Linked DNA regions of Homo sapiens: regions 1, 3 and 4 are each linked to region 2. The links are contacts of gene promoters, found by promoter capture Hi-C in blood cells and fetal thymus (Javierre and others, 2016). All regions are on one chromosome and are shown on one strand. Each heading gives the region's core, a stretch centred on a gene start or on the middle of the fragment in contact. The rest is flanking DNA. Distances are from core to core; before and after follow the strand shown. Region 1 overlaps LOC105371240 (a long non-coding RNA gene). Region 2 holds the start of NETO2 (neuropilin and tolloid like 2). Region 3 overlaps ABCC11 (ATP binding cassette subfamily C member 11). Region 4 overlaps ABCC11 (ATP binding cassette subfamily C member 11).

What was found. The method cuts DNA at HindIII sites, captures the fragments that hold promoters and counts their contacts. A CHiCAGO score of 5 or more calls a contact.
Region 1: a fragment that was not itself captured here is called in contact with the fragment with the promoter of NETO2 in region 2 in 1 of 17 cell types (naive CD8 T cells); the score reaches 5.4 in naive CD8 T cells.
Region 3: a fragment that was not itself captured here is called in contact with the fragment with the promoter of NETO2 in region 2 in 1 of 17 cell types (naive B cells); the score reaches 5.5 in naive B cells.
Region 4: a contact is called between a fragment that was not itself captured here and the fragment with the promoter of NETO2 in region 2, in 11 of 17 cell types (naive CD8 T cells, megakaryocytes, naive B cells and 8 more). The highest score is 10.6, in naive CD8 T cells.

What each region holds. Positions count from the first base shown.
Region 1 is chr16:48,631,857-48,634,967 of GRCh38, forward strand. The region is part of intron 1 of LOC105371240 (a long non-coding RNA gene); the gene reads left to right. Among named protein-coding and RNA genes, the nearest start is that of N4BP1, 23 kb to the left of the region's middle. The HindIII fragment of the contact is 5,727 bases long and covers 1-3,111 here.
Region 2 is chr16:47,142,154-47,145,404 of GRCh38, forward strand. NETO2 (neuropilin and tolloid like 2) reads right to left here and starts at 1,792. Exons shown (of 9, transcript NM_018092.5): 1 at 1,426-1,792. The coding sequence starts at 1,459. It overlaps ITFG1-AS1 (ITFG1 antisense RNA 1), which reads left to right and starts at 1,915. Exons shown (of 4, transcript NR_110904.1): 1 at 1,915-2,341. RefSeq lists silencers at 773-922, 1,093-1,932, 1,993-2,322. The HindIII fragment of the contact is 8,905 bases long and covers 1-3,251 here.
Region 3 is chr16:48,189,997-48,192,995 of GRCh38, forward strand. It overlaps ABCC11 (ATP binding cassette subfamily C member 11), which reads right to left. Exons shown (of 30, transcript NM_001370497.1): 20 at 2,524-2,721. Among named protein-coding and RNA genes, the nearest start is that of ABCC12, 36 kb to the left of the region's middle. The HindIII fragment of the contact is 3,166 bases long and covers 1-2,981 here.
Region 4 is chr16:48,172,141-48,175,308 of GRCh38, forward strand. ABCC11 (ATP binding cassette subfamily C member 11) reads right to left here. Exons shown (of 30, transcript NM_001370497.1): 26 at 3,118-3,168. Among named protein-coding and RNA genes, the nearest start is that of ABCC12, 18 kb to the left of the region's middle. The HindIII fragment of the contact is 1,645 bases long and covers 732-2,376 here.

The DNA.
Region 1 (3,111 bases), core at 310-2,809, 1.5 Mb after region 2:
GCAAGGTAGTGTCTGATATTCTTAGCAAATAGAAGGGTAAAAAGATGCGATTTTCCCTGATACCTCAAACCAACTGCACTTGAATTAACATAGAAACAGAAAACCAAATACCCCATGTTCTTACTTATAAGTGGGAGCAAAATATTGGGTATTGGGACACAAAGATGGAAACAATAGACACTGGGGACTCCTAGAGGGTAGAGGAAGAGAGCTGCAGGGGTTGGAAAACTACTTATTGGGTCCTATGCTTGTGACAGAATCAATCGTACCTTAAACTTCGGCATCATGCAATATACCCATGTAACAAACCTGCATGTATATCCTCTGCATCTAAAACAAAAGTTGAAATTAAAAAAGAAAAGAAGAGACGTGGCTGGGCAAGGTGGGTCACACCCATAATCCCAGTACTTTGGGTGGGCACCTGTAATCTCAGCTACTCAGGAGGCTGAGGCAGGAGAATCGCTGGAACCTGGGAGGTGGAGGTTGTAGTGATCTGAGATCACGCCACTGCATTCCAGCCTGAGGAACAAGAGTGAAACTCCATCTCAAAAAAAAAAAAAAAAAAGAAGAGACGTGGTTGTGCTAGGTTAATAATAAACCCTAAACTCTCAGCAGTTCAAAAGAACAGAGTGTCTTTCTCACCCCATGCTGTGTGTCCACTGCAGGTCCACCAGGGGCTCTGCTTGTCTTAGTCACTCAGGGGCCTTGTGTGACAGAGACTCCATCTCAACAAGTGCTTCTGTGACCCAGCAGGCAGTAAAAAGAGGATGGAGACCACAGACTGACCTGTCTGCTTCTGCCTAAAAGTGACACATGTCATTTTCACTCATACTTCATGGGCCAAAGCAGATCACATGGCCGTGCACGAGCTCAAGTGGGTGGAGAGGTGCAGCCCCACCATGTGCCCAGAAAGAGAGCTGAGCATTTGAGACCTTTCTTTCTTCTTTTCTGCTTTCCCTCTTCCCTTCTTCCTGCTTTCCTTCCCTTCTTATTTACTAAGTGCCTACTATTTAGATGATGTATCCTCACTGGGATTATCATTTGTTATTTAAAAAATTTAAATAATAAATTTAATTTGTTTTGTTATTTATTATTTACTTTTTTTTTTTTTCTGAGATGGGGTCTTGCTCTGTCACCCAAGCCAGAGTGCAGTGGCACGATCTCAGCTCACTGCAACCTCCGCCTCCCAGGTCCAAGCGATTCTCCAGCCTCAGCCTCCTGAGTAGCTGGGGTTACAGGCATGCGCCACCGTGCCAAGCTAATTTTTGTATTTTCAGTAGAGATGGGGTTTTGCCATGCTGGCCAAGCTGGTCTCAAACTCCTGAGCTCAGGTGATCCACCCACCTTGGCCTCCCAAAGTCCTGGGATTACCGATGTGAACCACTGTGCCTGGCCTGTTTTTATTTTCTAAAGATGGGGTCTTGCTCTGTTGCCCAACCTAGAGTGTAGTGGCTATTCACAGATATTATCATAGCTCACTGCATAGCTCACTGCAGAACCTGGGTTTACTGATGCACACCACTGCACCCAGCCTCACTGGGATTATAAAATAAGACAAAACTCCGTCCTCAAGGCTCACATGATCTCATGGCCGAGTCAGAAAAGCCGACCAAGATCAGCACAAGTTGATATGTGAACACAGATATGAGGCAGCTCACCCAGCCTGGTGTGAAGCTAAGGAAGGCTTCCTGGAGGACGTCCCCAAGGAAGGTAGGAACAAGCCTGATGAGAGGCAGGGGAACCTGAATAGCACAGCTCATGCCTGTAATCTTAGCTACCAAGAAGGCAGAGGCGGGAGGATATCTGGAATCCAGGTGTTCAAGACCAGCCCAGGCAACATAGCAAGACTCTTAAAAAAAAAAGACGCAGGGAGATCATTTTCAGCAGAAAGAGCAGAAGATGAAAATGTCTGCAGGAGAGCTCTGTGGCCAGCAGTAAGATGTTCTGCAGGCCTGAGGAATGTTGTGGGGGATGGTGTGAGGATGAGCAGGCACAGCAGGAAGTGGGTCCAGACCACTTAAGGCTTCAGGACCACTGGAGACTGGATTTCCTGAGAAGGCCATGGGGGCCATAGAGAGGCTGGTTAAATTTATTTTATTTTTTCCAATTTAGCCTTGACTTGAAACTCATAAATTTGTTTTCTCTGAGACAGGGTCTCACTATGTTGCCCAGGCTGAACTCAAACTCCTGGGCTTGAGCCATCCTCCTGCCTCAGTCTCCCGGGGTACTACAGGTGTAAGCCACCATGCCCGCCTGCCATAGAAAGGTTTTAAGCAGGACATTAACACTGTGAGGTCCTCTCTCTGTAGGGTGGGTTGGAGGGGAAAGGATTGAGAACAGAGAGACAGCACTTTGAGAGGCTGAGGCAGGTGGATCGCTTGAGGTCAGAAGTTCAAGAACAGCCTGGCCAACATGGTGAGATCCCGTCTCTACTAAAAATACAAAAATTAGCTGGGCGTGGTGGTGTGTGCCTGTAATCCCAGCTATTCAGGAGGCTGAGGCAGGAGAATTACTTGAACCTGGGAGGCGGAGGTTGCAGTGAGCCGAGATGGCACCACTGCATTCCAGCCTGTGCAACAAGAGTGAAACTCCATCTCAAAAAAAAAAAAAAAAAAAAGAAAGGAAAGATAGGATGCTGATGTCATAGCTAGAGGGAGATGACAGAGCCTCAAATGCAGGCAATGTTTGGGGACATAGAGAGGATAAAATTGATCAGAGAGGTGATATGCAGAGGCAGCCTATAGGACTTGGTTTTTATGGAAAGTGGGAGTAACGCTGAACCTTAAGAATGTCTGGGTTTCAAATGGCATGGAATGGCTGAGGTGTATTATTCATTCAGGATACTTATTAATGTCTATCATGGGTTCTTTCTGGGTGCTTGGAATACATCAGTGTTAAAAGAGACCAAAAAAAAAAAAAAGAAGACAATTCCCTGCCCTCGTGATCGTGAGGTTGATATTCCAGTGGGGGAGCAGGCAATAAATACCAAATCTAAATATGTACATTTTACAATATTAAAAAGTAGACCACATTGGGGGAAAGGCAGGGAAAGGATGGTCGGGAGAGTTGGGAAGGGAGGGGTGTCGATATTTTAAGTAGGGCAGTTAGAAA
Region 2 (3,251 bases), core at 542-3,041:
AAACATTCCTTTCCCAGGAATGACTGTAAAAATTAGGAGTTAGAGATATGAAAGCCACAGGATGAATTTCAGAGTTGTTTTCAATTGTAATAAAGAAATCACTACGGATTTACGGTTTGTGAAATATTCATCAGCTAGAAAGTCCTAGGTTACCTTAGTACAAGCTGTAGATACGTTTACAGTGGGGTAGTTAAACGTTTCGAATTACTGAAATCTCAATTACGAATTTAGGAATATGTGGAGAGTAGACAATGTGTCCAATTAAAATCAAAAGCAAAATTACACTGAACTTTCTAATAAAACAAATTTGAAAAAAGTGCTGTTAGGGAGCAGGAAAAAAGTCACTCTACAAATATTAAGATACAGTGCTGAGTTATACATAACACCGTTAATAATGCCTCAGCCGTACCCTCGAAATTTTTAAAAAAAGAACATGTTACGACATTACAAACACGTCAGCTTTCAATTTAAATCAGCAGGGGGAAAAAGGGAAGTCCTTTACTGAGTGGTGGTGCTGTTTTCCCTCTGGAAATTGAAAAGACGATTTATTCAGTCCGAGTTTCAGGAGCAACTTTGTATCCCAATCCTAATTATCTATGTATATAAATTTTCATCTAAATTACCACCTCCTGGGAAATGCAAAGCCGGTGGAGTAGGTTTTAGAGCTCTGTGCTCTGGACAAGCCAACTGTTTTAATTCCCAGTACAACAAATTAGTAAGAACCGAACACCAGCGGCGGGGAATTCTGAGACCTCTGGCGGAGCGCGAGGAGCGCCGCGTCCCGGGAAGCACCCGAGCAGCAGCGCTCCCCGGGGGCCGGGACAAGCCGGGTCCGCGGCGCCCGCGCGCCGCCCCCGGAGCCCGCAGTGGTGCCGCAGCCTCCGTGGCCGCAGCAGGTGGGACCCGGCTGGCCCAGCAGGCCCCGTTCCCCGCCGCGAGGTGCAGGCGCCGCGGGGCTATTCGAAAACCACTGCACGACGTCACGGCCGCGGCTTTTATTGTTCTCGTGGAATTACTTTTTGCCATCACATCTGGAGAAAGAGCGGCCTCCGCTCCACGACAGGAATCTCACAACTTTGCAAAGGGATGCGCGGAATTCTACGGAAGCGGCGCGAGGGCGCAGCCCGGAGGGCCCTGCTGGGCCCAGGGGCCTCCTGGCCGCCTTCCCGACCCGATCCCTCTTCCCACACGCGCCCCGCGAACGTCGGCCGGACTCGCAGGGGTCGGAAGCGGCGCGCCCGGAGAGCCGGCGGAGCCGGGCAGGGCTCGCGCCCCGCGGTCCGCTCCGAGTAGCCGCGAGCCCCGCCAGACAAAGAGGCGCGTCGGGTCCCGGGCGCGGGTAAGGGACGCAGAGGCGCGGGCAGGGCGGCGCGCCAGCCTCGGCCCGCAGGGGGCGCCGTCCGTGGCCCCAGCCCCGGTCCTTACCTTTGAGGACCGAGCAGAGCCGCTCCAGGGCCATGTTCCCGAGCTGCCCGGCGCTTCGCGAAGGGCTGAGGTAGCGGCGGCGGTGGCTCGGCGCTCACGGCTCGGCGCGGCGGCGACGGCCCCACTCCGTCCCCATCGCCGGCCAGCAGCTGCCTCCCCGCTCCCCTGAGGAGAGCTCAGGTCCTGCGGCCCGCCATGCCCGAGCCCCACAGTGGGCTCCCGCGCGGCCCGAGCACCCCGACGGGCGCCGCCTCCTGCTCCGCGGCGCCCCGTCCCATCGACCGCCCGAGGGCCGAGGAGTGCGGACGCGCGGCGCGGGACCGGCAGGCAGCTCCGCCCGCGGCCCCGGCGCGGGATCCACTGAAGTGGCGGGCGCGGGGCGCCCAGGCTCATTTAAGGAGGGAGCGCGAGCGCCGCGTGCCGGCTGCGCCGCCTGTGCGCATGTGCCCGCCCCGCCCCGCCCCGCGCCGCGCCTCGCGCGCCCGCCGCGGCCTCGCGCCGTGGGACGGCGTCGCTCCCCGCCGGCTGCCGTTAGGGCTGGGAGCCGGCTGGGCGCGGGGGTAGTGAGGGTGCCTCTCGCCGTGGCTGCGCGGCGGCCTCGTCCGAGAGGCCGGCGCCGGGGCAGTGACCGGCCCGTGCCCAGCCGCCGCGCAGGGCGCCCGGGGCAGCTGGCCGAGCCCTCGATGCCTCCCGTCTGACGGAGGCGCCCGGGAAGCGCCGCCCACCTCGGCCCCGCACCCTCGCCGGCCTGCCGGGTCTCCGCCAGCCCTAGCAGACAGAGAGGGGCGCCGGTCCCTAGTCCCCCAGACCTCCATTCAAGGTCAAAACTTTGCCCAGCTCAGCCTTGCTCGACCCTGGGCAGGGAAGCGCGGACATCGGCAGAGGGAGCCCGAGGCTCTCCGTGCCCTTCGCGCCGGTGAGTTCCCGACCCGCGGCGCTGCCGGCGTTTCCCTAGCGCCCGCCAGGTTGACAGGCACTTTAGTACCAACTCCTCAGACTCCCCCTCATGAAGTAGGTTTTAGGGGATTGGAAAGTCGAGGCCAGAGAGGTGAAGCCCTTCGTCCAGAGCCGCGTAGCGAATGAGCGGCAGGGCTGTGCACCTCCCCCGGGGCTGCCCTCCTAGCAGCTAACCACTACGCTGGGCAGCTTCGCCAGCTGATGGGAGTCTCCAGGTCTGCCAACAACTGCCTGGCTGTTGGTGGTATTCATGATCCTGCTTTATTTTCTCCACAGCGGTTATCACACTGATATGACCTTCCTCATTTATTTATTTGTTCATCCTTTATATCTCCCTCACCCTCACACCATTAAAATATCAGCTGCTTGCAGGCAGGCCGACTGCATTCATTTTTTTCACTCCACACATACGTATTGGGTGTTAATTATGTGCAGAAGACAATGATTGGTGCTGGAGATAACAACCGTGATCAAGGCCTTACCATAATAGAATATTTATGCCTGTCTCTGCGTGTAGTAGGAACTCTGTAAACGTTTGTCTAACCAATTGTAGCTAAAGACAATGTCAGGCAACTGAAACATTTTTCAGGTGTTAAGCTCTTCTCTCTCACTTTGTATTCCTTCAAGAAAGGTACAAAAGCATAAATAATTCATGAGATTTACAAAGGAAAAACATACTTAACACCAATTAATATCGAGGTGTTTCACCCTTTGCCATGTGCTGTGAATGGGGGCATAAAAGATGGGTAAGTTTGGGTTCCTAAAGGTAACCACCTACTACAGTTAAGATCGCACACGAGAACCAATTAGGAAATAAAACATTTAAGAACTTTTTCCCACGGATATGAAAAGGTGGCTCACGCATGTAA
Region 3 (2,999 bases), core at 149-2,648, 1.0 Mb after region 2:
CAGTCTCCTGGTCTTGAGCTGGCTAAATCTGATTCCTCCTTCAAGGAGTGAAGTCCCCAAGAAGGCTTTCTGGACTCTCCCCACTTTCTTCCCCTGCCCTCAAGCTAAGACAAGGTGCCTCTTATGTTCTCATGGCCCTGTGTGCTCCATCCCGTGATAAACTTTACATATCTACGACAATGGCCTGTTTTCTTGTCCATCTCCCCCATTAGACTATACATCCATGATGGCCCAAACCCTACCTGCACTGTGCATTCTCTAATGTAAGCCTCATGCCCACTGCAGAACCTGGCACATAGTAACACTTAGTAAGTGAGAGAGAGGAATGACATTTCCAAGAAGCAGTGTGATACCATAAGCAATTTGGTTTTTTTTTTTTTAAATGAGATAGGGTCTCACTGTCTCCCAGGCTGGAGTGCAGTGGCATGATCTCAGCTCACTGCCACCTCCACCTCCCTGGCTCAAGCGATCCTCCTTGATCCTCAGTCCCCCAAGTAGCTGGGACTACAGGCACAAGCCCCCATGTCCGGCTAATTTTTATATCTTTGGTAGAGACAAGATTTTGCCTTGTTGCCCAGGCTGGTCTCGAACTCCTGAGCTCAAGCAATCCACTCACCTCAGGCCTCCCAAAATGCTGGGATTCCAGGCGTGAGCTACTGCACCCAGCTGACAATTCAGTATTCTAACCAAACACATATTCCAACTTTAACATATGTGAGATTTCAGTTTCCTCATATGTAAAATGAGGATAATATCCACTTCAAAGAGAACTCAGGGCAATCATAAGCAACTCTGTATATGACCATGCTCAGCCAGTGGAGGCCAGCGTCACTGTGGCCCTCCATCAGGGGACACTGAGCTCTTAGAACCAGACTTCCAGCAGGAGAGCTCCACCGCACTTTCATCACTCCCTTCTCACCAAGCAGCCTGGTTCACCCAGCTGCAACTACATTTTAGAAAAGGCAAAGCTATGAAGAGAGTAAAAAAGATCAGTGGTTGCTGGGAGTTTGAGGGTAGGGAGGGAGGGATGAATAGGTGGGACACAGGGTTTTGTTTATGGCGGCGGAACTATTCTGTACCATGGATACATGTCATTATACATTTTTCAAAACCCATAGAATGCACAGCACAAAGAATGCACCATAAGGTGAACTATGGATATTCATTAATAATAGTAATTAATAATGTACCAATATTGACTCATCAATTGTAACAAATGTCCCACGTTAATGCAAGATGTTAAGAATAAGAGAAATGGGCCAGGTGCAGTGACTCACAACTGTAATCCCAGCACTTTAGGAGGCTGAGATGGGCAGATGGCTTGAGCCCAGGAGTTCAAGACCAGCCTGCGCAACATGGCAAGACCTGTCTCCACAAAAATACAAAAATTAGCCAGGCATGGTGGTGTGCCCCTGTGGTCCCAGCTACTCGGAGGTTAAGGTAGGGAGGACTGCTTCAGCCCAGGAGGTCGAGACTGCAGTAAGCTGTGATCACACCACTGCACTCCAGCCTGAGTGATAGGCAGGTATATGAGAACTCTCTGTACTTTCATCTCAATTTTTCTGTAAACGAAAAGTGCTCAAAAAATAAAGTTGGCTTGGTTTCAAGTCTTTGCTATTGTGAATAGTGCCACAATAAACATACGTGTGCATACATGTGCATTTATCTTTACAGCAGCATGATTTATAATCCTGAAGCTGGAAACCATCATTCTCAGAAAATTATTGCAAGGACAAAAAACCAAACACCACATGTTCTCACTCATAGGTGGGAAATGAACAATGAGAACACAAGGACACAGGAAGGGGAACATCACACACTGGGGCCTGTTGTGGGGTTGGGGGACGGGGGAGGGATAGCATTAGGAGATATACCTAATGTTAAATGACGAGTTACTGGGTGCAGCACACCAACATGGCACATGTATACATATGTAACTAACCTGCATGTGCACATGTACCCTAAAACTTAAAATATAATAAAAAATAATAATAAAATAAAGTTGGCCGGGCATGGTGGCTCACACCTGTAATTCTAGCTACTTAGGAGGCCAATGTGGGAGGATTGCATTAGCCCAGGATTTTGAGACTAGCCTGGGCAAACAGAGCAAGACCCCATCTCTACAGATAAATAAATAATTAAGGTCTACTAATAAAAAAAAAATAGGCCGGGGGTGGTGGCTCATGCCTGTAATCCCAGCACTTTGGGGGGCCGAGGTGGATGGATCACTGGAACCCAGGAGTTTGAGACCACCTTGGGCAACGTGGTGAAACCCAGTCTCTACAAAAAATACAAAAATTAGTCAGATCTAGTGGCATGTGCCTGTACTCCCAGCTACTTGGGAGGCTGAGGCAGGAGGATCACTTCAGCCTGGAAGGTGGAGGTTGCCATGAGTGGAGATTGTGCCACTGCACTCCAGCCTGGGCTACAGAGCTCTAAAAAATAAAAAAATAAAAAAATAAAAATGAAGCTGGGCAAGTTCAGAGCTCAGCCTTCGGCCCCACCCAGCACCCAGGCCCATACCTTGTTGAAGAGCTTGTTGTGCAGGGCCGTGGATGCCTTCCTCGTGACCTTGGTGAAAATCCCTGAGGAGCAGACCCCCACACAGATGAGGAGCAGGGCGTTGAGCCCGTACACCAGCTGGTAGAAGGACAGTTGAGGATTGTCTGCAATGTTGCCCAGGTCTGCCATGGTTCCATTGCTCTCTCGGCTGCTATTGGTCTTCAAGAAAGAACAGGGGGTCTGACTGCAGGTGTCCGGGGGAAATTCAGTGGCAGGGAAAGCCTTCTCCCTGGGGCCACGTGAGAATCTGTGGCTGGTAGAAGGTGAAGCTGTTTGCCCAAACCTCCCTGCTCAGCGCTTGGCTACTCTCTTTTGCCCTTCATTCCCACTGCCCTGCCCTGCATCAGGCCCTCAGAGTCTGCCCCGTGGACACTGCAGCAGCTGGGCCCTTGTGCACGCTCTGCTGTGATGCAGCGAGAAGCTTGGGAACGTGATTT
Region 4 (3,168 bases), core at 304-2,803, 1.0 Mb after region 2:
GTGTCCTTCTGTCTGGCATCTTTCACTTCGTGTCCATCCATATTGTAGCATGTAACATTTCCCTTCTTTTTAGAGCTGCATAATATTCCATTGTATGTATATACCACATTTTGTTTTTCCATTCATCTGTTTATAGACGTATGACTTGTTTCCACCTTTTGATTACTGTGAGTAGGGCTGCTCTAAACACTAGTGTACACATATGGGTTGAAGTCTCTGCTTTCAACACTTTGGGATATATAACTAGAAGTGAAATTCCTGGATTACATGGTAATTCTATGTTTAACTTTTTTTTTTTTTTTTTTGAGACAGGGTCTCACTCTGTCTACGAGGCTGGAGTGCAGTGGTGCAAACACAGCTCACTACAGCGTTGACCTCTTGGGCTCAAGCAAGCCTCCCACCTCAGTCTCCTGAGTAGCTGGAATTGCAAGCACAGACCACCATGCCCAGCTAATTTTTGTTTACCTTTTTGAGGAATTGCCAAATTGTTTTCCATGGTCTCTGCACAATTTTACATCCCCACTGGCAATGCATGAGAGTTTCAATTTTTTCACATCCTTGTTAATAATACTTGCTATTTACCTTTTATTATTGTTATAGCCATTCTAGTAGGTGTGAAGTGGTAGCTCATTGTTGGGGGGCTGGACTTTCTGTTTCTTGCAGTGAAAAGAATCCTAACATCCAGGTAACTGACATGAGAGAGGGAATCTATCTGGACTTTACACCCAGCAAGCTTTACACTTGCATCTGGAACAGGCAGCACTATAGACACTTCCCTGCTATGCAGCCATGTAGCCCTGAGTGAAACCTGTCAACCTTGCTTTATCCTTCCCCAGTTGTGCCAGCCACGCATATCTTGTGTGTAGGGCTAATGTGTACTAAAGAAGAGGCAGGTCTTATTTGCATGACATTTGATATCTCCAAAGCACTTTCATAGATGGGTTATTTGACATTTTCTCCTCCATGAGATGGGTATACTCCTTTCTTATCAGTTTTAAATGGCTTGTTCAAGGTCACGCCACAAGCCAGTATGAGAGCCAGGCTGGCATCAAGACATTCAGAGAGATGCTTAAGGGTAGAGCCTTAAGTTCTAAGGTAGGATTTCAAGTCCACATTTCTTTCTACAGAAAGAGGTGGGGGGAAATATCACAAATTATGGGTTTAGAACACCTAGGGTTATATCTCATGTTCGCCATTTCTTTGTGTGTCTTTAAACAAGTCCCCTTCCTCTCTAAGTTCCGTGCCTTCATCTGTAAAATGGGGATAATGAAGGGGCCTCACAGTGTTGCTGGGAGAGTTAAATTAGGCAGTATACTAAAGCATTCAGTTGGCACATATAAATGCTCAATAAATGTTAGTTCATATTTTTACTACTCTTCATATCAACGCACAGGAGATTTGGCCACATTCTACTGTAACATAGAAATCTATCACTAAATGTCTTATCATTCCCCTAACACAACCATTTTTTTGTTGTTTTGTGTGGGGGCGGGGAAGGTTTTGAGACAGAGTTTCCTTCAGTCACCCAGGCTGGAGTGCAGTAGCACGATCTCGGCTCACTGCAACCTCCACCTCCCGGGCTCATGCGATTCACGTGCCTCAGCCTCCCGAGTAGCTGGGATTACAGACATGCACCACCACATCTGGCTAATTTTTGTATTTTTAGCAGAGACAGGGTTTTGTCATGTTGGCCAGGCTGGTCTCAAACTCCTGGCCTCAAGTGATCTCCCTGCCTTGGCCTCCCAAAGTGCTGGGATTACAGGCATGAACTACCATGCCCCACCTCATGACCCAGTCATTTTGAAACCCTGTGTCTGTGCACATATTGTTCCTTCTCCTTGAAAAGAGTTTGTCTCCTATTTCTGCCTGGCAAGCTCCTACTCAGCTTTCAAGACCCTGATCAAATGTCCCCTCCTCTGGGAAGCCTTTCTGGATTCACTCAGGCAGTGACTCATCCCAGTCGTAGCTCCCTTAGCATTTTGTACATATCTCTGATCTAACAATTACCCCTTCATACTGTGATTTATTGGGTCTTACCCCTGTACAAAACCATCTTCCCCACCCACACTGTGAGCTCCTGCTGGGGGAGCAGGGAAAATGTACATTCATTAAACTGGCTCCAGTCCCTAGCACAGTGTCCAGACCAGGCAGAAGCTCAGAAAAGGCAAGTTAAATGAGTGGGAGGATGAATGAAGGAATGAATGAATGAAGCTCTGGGGTTCAGTTTATCCTCCTGGCTCTAAGAATTCTCCTTAAATATCACAAAACATGGGGGGACCTAGCCTGCTTTTTAGTGCATCCATCTTCCTCAGTCCCCATGCCTTGATGTTTCCTCCCAGATAAAGTGCATTGTCAGTAGGAGCCTAATCTGGATAAAGCTTTGTCCCTGAGTTGACTTCTGAGGACACAGAAAGTGTAGTGAAGAGGCTGGAAGATCTGGTTCTGTCTGCTTCACTGACTGGGCTGCCTGGATTTTTCTCACATCACTCCTGTCCAGAATGTGTACCATTGAAGAAGCACTTCCTAAAAACGTCCCCAGGGGCTTTGCCCAGTGCACAGAGAGAATAAGCTACATCTGGACAAGAAAGAATATGGTAGCCTGAGTGCAAATGCTTAATGGTGTAGTGAAATCTGACCAATCCCATCAGGGTTTTGTTTCTGTTTTTTGTTTGTTTGCTTGTTTGTTTGTTTGTTTTTTAATAAGAGTCAGGGTCTTGTTGTGTTGCCCAGGTTGGAGCACAGTGGCTATTCACAGGCACAGTCATAGTGTACTACAGCCCTGAGCTCCTGGGCTCAAGTGATCCTCCTGCCTCAGCCTCCCAAATAGCTCGGACTACGGCTGTGCACCACCATGCCATCCAGTTTCTAAAAAATAAAAATATGTTTTGTTTTTGCGTATAACATTACGGTTTACAAAGTGCTCTTATATATATTGAGGCCTCATTTAATCCTCAACAGTACTTCAGTGAGGTAAGCCAGGTAGGCATGAGTGGCCCAGCAGGCCAAGGAGGCCTGGAAATCGGGGCATTGGTCACCAGCTCACTATAGGCAGCCCGGTGCTGGAATCCTGGTCCTGTGACCCACCTCCTGCAGGCTGCCTGCTGGCCCGGCACTCACCTGATGGTTCCTGAGAGCAGCACTGGATCTTGAGGGATCACTGAGAGCTTG